Regions from separate parts of the Homo sapiens genome. Here all the other regions are linked to region 3. Evidence: promoter capture Hi-C in 16 types of primary human blood cells and fetal thymus (Javierre and others, 2016). All regions are on one chromosome and are shown on one strand. The core of a region is centred on a gene start or on the middle of the fragment in contact, and the rest is flanking DNA. Distances in the headings are between cores, read along the strand shown. Region 1 has its middle 8.2 kb from the start of LDLR. Region 2 overlaps EPOR (erythropoietin receptor). Region 3 holds the start of KRI1 (KRI1 homolog).

Region 1 (3,566 bases), core at 861-3,360, 520 kb after region 3:
CAAGACTCTGTCCCAAAAGCAGATAAATAAAAATAAATAAAAATAAAAATATGGCCGGGCATGGTGGCTCACACCTGTAATCCCAACACTGGGAAGATGAGGCGGGCAGATCACGAGGTCAGGGATTCGAGACCAGCCTGGCCAACATGGTGAAACCCCGTCTCTACTAAAAATACAAAAATTAGCCGGGCATGATGCTGCATGCCTGTAATCCCAGCTACTCTGGAGGCTGAGGCAGGAGAATCGCTTCATCCCGGGAGGTGGAGCTTGCAGTGAGCTGAGATCGCGCCACTGCACTCTAGCCTGGGCAAAAGAGTGAGACTCCATCGCAAGAAAAAAAAAAAAAAAAGCTGCAAGCTCTGTCTCCCGGGTTCAAGTGATTCTCCTGCCTCAGCCTTCCAAGTAGCTAGGATTATACGCGCCCGCCACCATGCCTGGCTAATTTTTGTATTTTTAGTAGAGATGCGGTTTCACCATGTTGGCCAGGCTGGTCTCAAACTCCTGACCTCACGTGATCCACCTGCCTCGGCCTCCCAGAGTGCTGGGATTACAGGTGTGAACCCCTGCGCCTGGCCAAGAAAAGTTGCTTGAATGAAGAGTAAATAGAAGACCCAGAAAGAAATGATTCGTCCGAGGAAGGTCACAGAAGCAACGTAATCAAGATGGAAATCTGACTCTTCCTAATTTTGGCCAGACTTCCCATCCCTCCAAAGCTTTCCAGACTCTTCCAGATCATTCTAGATATTTCCAGAAATCATTCGTGAAATCTAACTAGGAGTAGTCTGTAAACAATGTGTTTCACACAGATACAATTCATAAACGATGAGAAGACAAGGACACTTCATGAATGAAATTTTTACGGCCGGGTATGTTGGCTCACGCCTATAATCCCAGGACTTTGGAAGACCCAGGCAGGAGGATTGCTTGAGTCCAGGAGTTCAAGACCAGTCTGGGCCACATAGTGAGACCCTGTCGCTACAAAAAATTTAAAAATTAGGTAGATATGGTGGTGTATGCCTCTAGTTTTAGCTTTTTTGGAGGCTGAAGCAGGAGGATCTCTTGAGCCCAGGAGGTTGAGCTGCAATGAGCTACGATTGAACTACTACACTCCAGTCTGGGTGACAGAGAAAGAGGCTGCCTCAAAAAAATAAAAATAAAAAAATAAGGCCGGACGCGGTGGCTCACGCCTGTAATCCCAGCACTTTGGGAGGCTGGGGTGGGCAGACCACGAGGTCAGGAGATCGAGGCCATCCTGGCCAACATGATGAAACCCTGTCTCTACTGAAAACACAAAAATTAGCTGGGCGTGGTGGCGTATACCTGTAATCCCAGCTACTCGGGAGGCTGAGGCAGGAGAATCACTTGAACCAGGGAGTCAGAGGTTGCAGCGAGAGGAGATTGTGCCACTGCATTCCAGCCTGGCAACAGAGCAAGACTCCGTCTCAAAAAAGAAACAACAACAGCAACAACAACAAAAAAAACATAAAAAAGTTCGGGCACGGTGGCTCACACCTGTAATCCCAGCACTTTGGGAGGCCAAGGTGGGTAGATCTCTTGAGGTCAGGAGTTCAAGACCAGCCTGGCCAACAAACATGGTGAAACCCCGTCTCTACTAAAAATACAAAAAGTAGCCGGGTGTAGTCCCAGCTACTCGGAAGGCTGAGGCAGGAGAATCGCTTCAACCTGGGAGATGGAAGTTGCAGTGAACTGAGATTGCGCCACTGGGTGACAGAGTAAGACTCTTGTCTCAAAAAAAAAAAAAGAAAGAAAGTTTAATTTAATGATTCAAATAATGACCTGCTCGAGAGATAAATATAAAGTCTAACGTAAGAGGTGTATACTTTTTCCTCTGTCCTGCTGTCCTCGCCCCACCTCACCCCAAGTCCCAACCTGATTGATCAGTCTCCTTTCCCTCTGGTAGCCCCACTCCCATGACCGAACCGAGAAGTCATGCACCCGCATAAGAACTCTAATTTTTTTTTTCAAAGTCTTCTCACTGCCCCAAAAATAGTTTCTTTCATTCCCAGGGGATGTGAAAGTGTCTCTCCCAATTTTATTTCAACCTCCCAGCGTTCCACACATATGCCTTGCCTCAGCCAGCTTTCACTGATCTGCCATTTCCACCTCGGCGCTGCTCCTACCTGCGGAAATCCTGTCCATCCATAGTCTGATTTCTGTTGTTCCAGAACATTCTTTTTTTTTTCCCCTGGAACATTCTTTAAGATACCTCAATAAATGAAACCAGAGGGTATAGAGCAGTATGAATGGGTACTACAATGTACAGGGGGAAATGGAGGGGAATATGATATACTCTCCTCCTTGTATATGCTTAGAATGTTCTAGAAGGATATGCTTAAAAGGTTAGCAGTCCTGGCCAGGCGTGGTGGCTCACGCCTGTAATCTCAGCACTTTGGGATGCCAACGCGGACGGATCACAAGGTCAGGAGTTCTAGATCAGCCTGACCAATATAGTGAAACCTCATCTTTACTAAAAATACAAAAATTAGCCGGGTACGGTGGCATGTGCCTGTAGTCCCAGCTACTTTGGAACCTGAGGCAGGAGAATCGCTTGAACTCGGGAGGCAGAGGTTGCAGTGAGCCGAGACTGTGCCATTGCACTGCAGCCTGGGTGACAGAACAGGACTCCGTCTCAAAAAAAAACAAAAAAGGTCAGCAGTCTTAATTGTCAGAGGGCAGGGGACCTGCATGGGATGGAGGTTTTTCCATGTGTCCACCTTTTGAGCCCTTTTGCTTTTTTTTTTTAAATCTTTTTATTGTAGCAAAATAGATATAAAATTTACCCTTTTTTTTTTTGAGACAGGGTCTCACTCTGTTGCCCAGGTTGGAGTGCAGTGGCATGATCTTGGCTCACTGCAGCCTCTGCCTCCTGGGTTCAAGCGATTTTCCTGCCTCAGCCTCCCGAGTAGCTGGGATTACAGGTGCTTGCCACCATACCCGGCTAATTTTGTATTTTTAGTAGAGACGGGGTTACGCCAAGTTGGCCAAGCTGGTCGCAAACTCCTGACCTCAAGTGATCCGCCCCCCTCGGCCTCCCAAAGTGCTGGGATTACAGGCAGGAGCCACCACGCTCAGCCCTAAAATTTACCATATTAACCATTTTCAAGTTCAGAGGCATTAAAGTATACTCACATTGTTGTTCAACTGTCACCACTACTCACCTGCAGAAGTTTTTCATCTTGCAAAGTGAAAACCCCATACCCAATTTCCCGTTCTTCCTCTCAGCCCCTGGTAATCACTATTCTACTTTTTGTCTACTTTTTGTATGAATTTGCCTATTCTAGGACCTAATAGAAGTGGAGTCAAACCTGTTTGTCCTTTTGTGGCTGGCTTATTTCACCCGGCCTTATATCCTCAAGGTTTATCCATGTTGGAGGATGCCTGAATTTCCTTGTTTTTAAGGCTAAATTTTATTCTATTATATTAATATGTCATATTTTGTTTATCCTGATGGACACTTGGGTTGATTCCACCTTTGGCCATTTTGAAGAAGCTTCTATGTACATGGTATACACATATATCTTTGGGTCTCTGCTTTCAATGCTTTT
Region 2 (3,543 bases), core at 584-3,083, 810 kb after region 3:
TTCAAGCTCTGGAGGCCAGCCCTGAGCTTTGGTGGGTGACTACCTCTCTGTGCTTCAGTTTCCCATGGCTGGAATACTTACCTCAGGGACATATGCAGATCCAAAGACCTAAACAATGTAAAGTGCTTTTTCTCTTTTAAAAGTATAGCATTATCTTGTATATATTTTACCCAATCAATATGTTGTTTATAGTTTCATTGCTTTAAACTTTATAAAAAGAGCTTCAGGCCAGGCGTGGTGGCTCACGCCTGTAATCCCAGCACTTTGGGAGGCTGAGGCGGTCAGATCACCAGAGGTCAGGAGTTGGAGACCAGCCTGCCCAACATGATGAAACCCTGTATCAACTAAAAGTACAAAAAAAATTAGCTGGGTGTGGTGGCAGGTGCCTGTAGTCTCAGCTACTCAGGAGGCTTAGGCAGGAGAATTGCTTGAACCCAGGAAGCGGAGGTTGCAGTGAGCCGAGATTGTGCCACTACACTCCAGCCTGGGTGACAAAGCGAGACTCCATCTCAAAAAAAAAAAAAAAAAAAAGTTTGAGACTTCCTTCTTTTTGCACTCAACGTTGTTACTAAGATTCATCTACATTTTTTTAGTTCATTCCTTTTTCCATATTGCATATAATTCCATGGGTGACTATACCCTGATTTCTTCATCAGATTGCCTTATTTACTGCTGCGAACATTCTTGCACACATGCCCTGGTACGTGTGTGTGTTTTTAGGGGCCGAGACAGGTGGATCACCTGAGGTCAGGAGTTCGAGGTCAGCCCGGCCTACATGGTGAAACCCCGTCTCTACTAAAAATACAAAATTTAGCCAGGCATGGTGGCATGCACTTGTACTCCCAGCTACTTGGGAGGCTGAGACAGGAGAATTGCTTGAACCCGGGAGGCAGAGGTTGCAGTGAGCTGAGATCGAGCCACTGCACTCCAGCCTGGGTGATGAAGACGAGACTCTGTCTCAAAAAAAAAAAAAAAAAAAATCAGTCAGGCTTGGTGGTGCACGCCAGTAGTCCCAGCTACTCGAAAAGCTGAGGCAGGAGGATCGCCTGAGCCCAGGAGGTCGAGGCTGCAGCGAACCATGTTTGAGCTACTGGGCTCCAGCCTGTGCAAAAGTGAGACCCTGTCTCAGAAAAAAAAAGAAGTAGTTAAAGCAAAACTCCCACTGAGTTACTTGTTGACACCAAGTGTCATCAGAGTACTTTCTTAGAACATGGCCTGATTCAGAATTACTTTTATTATTATTAGTGGCAGAGACTAGCTAGTGGCCCTTAAACAGCTTTGCCCTTCCTGGGTGTACAGCTAAACTAAGTTTCCTGGCCTTTCATGTGACTGGGGTCATGTGACTGTTTCCAGCCAGTGAGGTGTGAGAAGAAGAGAGGAAGCCCATTTCCAGGCCAGATCCCTCAAATGGCCCATTGAGGGTCATTGCTGCCCTTTTTCTTCCCTTGCTGACTGGCAGTTTGTAGAACAGGGGATCCATCTAAGTACCCTAAGAGAAGGTAGAGCTACAGACTGGAAGAGTCTGAACCTCTGACTCATCCCATGGATGGCTGCCCATTTGAGCTGAGTTAGGAGAGAGAAATCATTTAATGTGGTAAGCCAGTAAGATTTAAGAGCTGTTTAACATACTATTTTGTTATGTTATGAGTAGCATTCAGATTGCAGATCCAGCTTCTGAATAAGCTCAAGAACTTTAACTTCTATCCCTATGGCCTATGCCCAGGGGAAGATGGGACTTAAAGGGTGTTTGTAGAAATCATGGTAGAAAAACTTACATACATATGTGTATATATATATATAGATACAAAAAAAAACTATACATATTTAAAAATACTGCAAGGTTGTGGTTTCCTGAGCAGGATGGATTGGGCAGACAAAATCAGCAATGCCCCTGCTCCTGAGAGAGGCCTCGCCATCCCTGTTCCATAAGTCTTGAGTCTGCACTGGTTCTCTGAGTCATATTGGATCCCTGATCATCTGCAGCCTGGTGTCCTAAGAGCAAGCCACATAGCTGGGGGGCAGAGGCTCAGCGGCTGGGATAAGGCTGTTCTCATAAGGGTTGGAGTAGGGGCCATCGGATAAGCCCCCTTGGGCTCCCTGGGAGTCCCCTGAGCTGTAGTCAGTTGAGATGCCAGAGTCAGATACCACAAGGTACAGGTACTTTAGGTGGGGTGGGGTAGGGGGCAGCTCAGGGCACAGTGTCCATGGACGCAAGAGCTGGGAGCTGGGGTCCAGGATAGTGTACTCAAAGCTGGCAGCAGAGGCTCCCTCTGGGCTGGGCTTCGAGGCCAAAGCAGATGAGCAGGAGGATGCTTCTGAGCCTTCATCCATGGCCACTATGTCCACACTGCCACCAGGCCCTGGGAGGTCCTCACTGGGCGGGTTCCGGGGCAGCAACCATTTGTCCAGCACCAGATAGGTATCCTGGGCATGCTCACTGCCCACTGGCTCCAGCAGGGGGCCCTCATCATCTGTCCCCGGCTCCACTGCCTGCATCGTCCCCCAGCAGCGCTCTGAGAGGACTTCCAGGGAAGCAGGTGGGTCCTCCGTGAAGGGGGTGCAGGGGCTCCACCACAGGCAGCCATCATTCTGGTACAGCCACAGCTGAAGAAATAGCACCAACCTGCTCAGAGAGGCCTGCAGTTTGGCTGCAAGAAGCAGGGAAGCCCAGGCACTGAGGGGACAACCAGGCCACCTACCTGGAAGTTACCCTTGTGGGTGGTGAAGAGGCCTTCAAACTCGCTCTCTGGGCTCGGGATGCCAGGCCAGATCTTCTGCTTCAGAGCCCTGTTGAAGCCAATATAAATAGTTACATAGATATGACTCATTGAATACTCACCAATTCCCCCTCCACTCCCAGTCATAGAGGCACAGATACACTTGGTCCCTGTGATCACAATGGAGGCAGAGGAGTACATCAGGGCCAGGGGACAGGGGTTTTGGCTGAAGCATCAGCAAGGCCCTACAAAAGGGTAAATGGAACAGGGTATTGAAGGGTGCATAGGAGTTCAATATACCTTGGTCATTCTCCCTTTAATCCTGGCCATGGCCAGGTGCAGTGGTTTACACCAGCACTATAATCCCAGTACTTTGGGAGGCTGAGGTGGGAGGATCATTTGAACCCAGGAGTTCAAGACCAGCCTAGGAAACATAGTGAGACCCCCATCTCTAAAAAAAATAAAATAAAATAAATTAAAAAACCCAAAACCCTGGCCCAGATTTTTCCAGGAGGTCCATGATGTCACTTCATAGATAAATATTATGTTACCTTCTGGGGTAATGAGAGAAGGCATTTAGGATAAAATCCAAGCCAGGCACGGTGGCTCATGCCTATAATCCCAGCACTTTGAGAGGCTGATGTGAGCAGATCACCTGAGGTCAGGAGTTTGAGACCAGCCTGGCCAACATGGTGGAACCCCGTCTCTACTAAAACTACAAAATTAGCCGGGCATGCACGCCTGTAATCTCAGCTACTCAGGCGGTTGAGGCAGGAGAATCACTTGAACCTGGGAGGCAGAGATTGCAGTGAGCCAAGACTGCTGC
Region 3 (3,471 bases), core at 297-2,796:
AAAAAAAAAAGAGAAATGGGGTCTTGCTATGTTGGCCAAACTGGTCTCAAACTCCTGGCCTCAATTGACCCTCCCACCTCAGCCTCCCAAAGTGCTGGGATTAGATGCTTGAACCACCTGCCCAGCCTGGTGGAGTTGGAATCATTCAGTCAGCAATTCCCACCTTGAATAGTGCCAAGGACACAGTCATTAACTCCACCACCAGGTAATAACCTAGGCTCTGCTAAGGACTTGTGACTTGTGAAGCAATTCATTCAATAGTCAAAACAGATGAACTGTGTAAACTGGGTAAATCCCAATCTATCCTTAAAACAGCCCTGAGGGGAGATGCTACCGTTAGATATACTTTACAGACAGGAAAAGAGGCTCAGAGAAGTCAAGTCACTTCTCTGAATCCACAGTCAGGAAAGGACCCCGGATTCTGCTCCAGAGGAAGGAGAGGTTTAGACAGGAGTGGCCCCGGACCTGTTCTGTTATAGAAGGTGGCATCTTTCTGATAAATGCGGGGGTCCTTCTTCTTCAACAAGGAGAGCGTTTTGTAAAAGTCCCGCTCCTGCTGGGGATCAAATTCCTAGGGCAGGAAAAGGGTTGGGGATAGATTTCAGAAGGGAGATAATAAGAGCCCTGGCGCCAGCAGGTGAGCTCAGCGTAGGGATTAGGATGGAGGGGGGTGGATCTGGCTGGGGAGGTCAAACAGGTGGTCAAACAGCAGGAGGGAGAGGGGCCCTCTTGGGGTGGGCAGGGGCAGGCCACAGGTAGGTACAGGATATGGGTAGAGGAAGGTGAGGGGCAAGGAGAAGGTAATTCCTGGGGAAGACAAAGACTTGACAAGGGGCAGGTGGGCTGAGGGCACAAGAGAGACAGCGGGGAGGGGCTGGGCCAGGCCGCACAGTGGGGCCAGGATCAGGGCTGATGTGAGAAGTTGGGCGCCCCACGTGGCGCAAGGAGTACACTAAAAAATGGCTAGACTCTTGAGGATGAAAGAGGAAAGGGGGGGTTCTTGGGGGACAGAGTCGCCCCACACATCAGAGTGGGCAGGTGGGGATCGTGGCAGGGGAGAGAAAATAACGGGGATTTGGCTCCCCTGGGGAGAGGGGGGGCACTGTCTGTCCCTCATGGGATGGGGAGCGGAGGATGGGACGCTCCCGCAGGGCGCTCTGGGGTTGGGGGTTCCCCCCCGTCTACATCGGGGTCGGGGTGCAGAGGGGGGCTTGGACGCCTCCGCACGTCCAGGACGGGGCGGGGACGCGCACCACGCGCTCGTCGCTTGAGTCCGACTCGGAGCTGGAGTCGCTGCTGCTGTCTCGGTCCCCGTAGCGATCCTTCACTGCGGGACACAGACGGGATGCCCCCCCCCAGGTCAGCCGGCGGGGCCACTCGACTCCCCACTTCCCAACCGGCCGGCGCGCGCAGGCTCCCGCGCGCATGCGCCCCGCACTCACGCCGCTGCAGTTCCTCGCGCTCCCGGTAGCGGTTGTACCGCGCGGCAAACGCCGCGTTCACCCGCAGCTGCGACGACCCGCGCGGTTCCGGCATGGCGGTTCTGTGGCCCATTGCGCACGCGCATTGAGGAAGCCCTGGACGGGGCGGGGCCGCCCTCAGTCCCGCCCGCATCCACTTGTAAACGAGGCGTACCGCTGCTAACCCCGCCCCTGGCTTTTCCGGGATCCCTTTCGCCTCATCACCGCAGTCACCGCCCACGGCTACGCCCCTGCGGGGAAGGCCGCGGCCACCGCCCACCCGCCCCACCCCCTGTGCTCCGGGCACCCAGCTGACATCTGGGGGCCCTTTCTCCACTCGCGGTTTCCTGCTTCCCTTCCGTTCCGACAGCGAAAACCGCTGCCCCACCCAGCTCACTCACCCTGGCGCCCTGGGAATTACTATTCTCTCCCCTCACCCACCACATCCACGATCCGCGACCCCCGTCCTCATCCCCATCAACATCCGGGATGTGTAACTCTCCATCCCAGACTCAAAAATCAGAAGCCACCCGTGCTGTGATCATGCACAAGTCTTAATTTAATGGGTAAAAACATTAAATTATTACAACATTTTTTCCAATAAAGCATAATAAATAGAATCCATTTCTTTTAAAACGCTGTACAAGAGACTGGAAAACAAGCTTCCAACAGAATATGAATAACTCATAACTCATTCTACCTTCTTATTGATTTGGGACGCTCCCCCCACCCCCCATGCCTGAAGCAACGTGCACACTTCAGGTCTCTGAGCACAGCCGGCCAAGGCCACCAGCTTCTAGGCTCCCTGGAGGTCATGACTTCACTCTTAAATGCTCTGCCCTTGGGTCTCGTCTGAGGCCCCAGCAGCCTGAGGCGCAGAAGAAACTGAACCGTTTAGGTGGCTGTGGCCTGCAGGAGCCCTTCTCTGTCCAACACACCAAAAGGAGTGAGAAAAACAAATGAGAAACGTCCCCCAAACACTCACACCCCCAAAACCAACACCTATAAGCCACAAACTGTGCTCCTCCCCTACTGCAGCAGTGGGCAGGAGAAACAAGAAGAGAAAGTGTTTCTTCCCCTCTCTTCTGATACATAACCCCACGGGGTTCTCTTGCTGGAGAGGGTGACCCCAGATCACAGCGGGGCCACCATGTGGCCCTGCAGGATGTCCACGAGGTCCTGAGCCCCTCTCTGCAGTGCCAGCTCCAAGGGTGTGAGACCCCTGGCGTCCCTGCGATGGAGATCAGATTCAGCTGCCAGAAAGCTGACCACAGCAGTGTGACCCTCTTGAACTGCCAGATGGATTGGAAGTGCCCCGGTGCCATCAGGCACGTTGACATCAGCCCCGTGCTCCACTAGGACCTTCAGGGTGTCCAGGAATCCAGTGCGGGCTGCGTCATGGACTGGACTGGTACCGGAGGTGTCCTGGACATTGGGGCTGGCACCTTGCTTCAGCAGCTCCAGGGCGATGGCGGTGCTGCCAAACATCATGACCTGTGTGAGGGACAGAGGATCAGGAGGTCCTCAAGGGAGGAGGTTCCACAAAAGGGGTCACTGGAAAGAGAAGGGTCATCCAGAAAGAGGCATCTCCCAGAAACAGGAAATGCTAGAGGAGGGGTCCTCTAGTGAACGGAGAAGCTGCATAAGCCCCCAGGAAAGTTCTTCTGGGAATAGGGACCCCCCCCAAAAGCTGGTCACTCCCTTAAGAATGAGACCCCCCAACCCAGAGAACAGCCCCCCATGGAAACTTTCAAGGAACCTAAGACTCTCCCCCAAGGGACCAAAGACGCCCCCAGATATGGGCAATCACCAGGAAACAGAAAATCCCCTCCAGGAAATGGGCCCCCAGAGATGGAGAACTACCCCCAAAGAATTGATAGTCCTCATAAGGGAAAAAAGATGTCAAAGGAAAGCGAACCCCTTCTCCAGGAAATAGCCTCCTCCTACATAATGGTGATGTCACCTCAGAGTACCTGAGAGCTCCTTTCAAGAAGCGGGATTCCAAAAGTAA

The links. The method cuts DNA at HindIII sites, captures the fragments that hold promoters and counts their contacts. A CHiCAGO score of 5 or more calls a contact.
Region 1: a fragment that was not itself captured here is called in contact with the fragment with the promoter of KRI1 in region 3 in 1 of 17 cell types (neutrophils); the score reaches 6.0 in neutrophils.
Region 2: a contact is called between a fragment that was not itself captured here and the fragment with the promoter of KRI1 in region 3, in 2 of 17 cell types (fetal thymus and non-activated CD4 T cells). The highest score is 7.3, in fetal thymus.

The regions. Positions count from the first base shown.
Region 1 is chr19:11,079,449-11,083,014 of GRCh38, forward strand. No RefSeq gene overlaps it. Among named protein-coding and RNA genes, the nearest start is that of LDLR, 8.2 kb to the right of the region's middle. The HindIII fragment of the contact is 2,798 bases long and covers 712-3,509 here.
Region 2 is chr19:11,375,992-11,379,534 of GRCh38, forward strand. It overlaps EPOR (erythropoietin receptor), which reads right to left. Exons shown (of 8, transcript NM_000121.4): 7 at 2,700-2,787; 8 at 1,216-2,604. The coding sequence ends at 1,993. SWSAP1 (SWIM-type zinc finger 7 associated protein 1) reads left to right here. Exons shown (of 2, transcript NM_175871.4): 2 at 1-178. The coding sequence ends at 25. Among named protein-coding and RNA genes, the nearest start is that of SWSAP1, 3.1 kb to the left of the region's middle. The HindIII fragment of the contact is 5,258 bases long and covers 1-3,543 here.
Region 3 is chr19:10,564,464-10,567,934 of GRCh38, forward strand. KRI1 (KRI1 homolog) reads right to left here and starts at 1,547. Exons shown (of 19, transcript NM_023008.5): 1 at 1,443-1,547; 2 at 1,254-1,327; 3 at 466-571. The coding sequence starts at 1,536. It overlaps CDKN2D (cyclin dependent kinase inhibitor 2D), which reads right to left. Exons shown (of 2, transcript NM_001800.4): 2 at 1,997-2,954. The coding sequence ends at 2,595. RefSeq lists enhancers at 652-1,219, 968-1,017, 1,220-1,787, 2,736-3,243 and a silencer at 1,288-1,817. The HindIII fragment of the contact is 9,818 bases long and covers 1-2,120 here.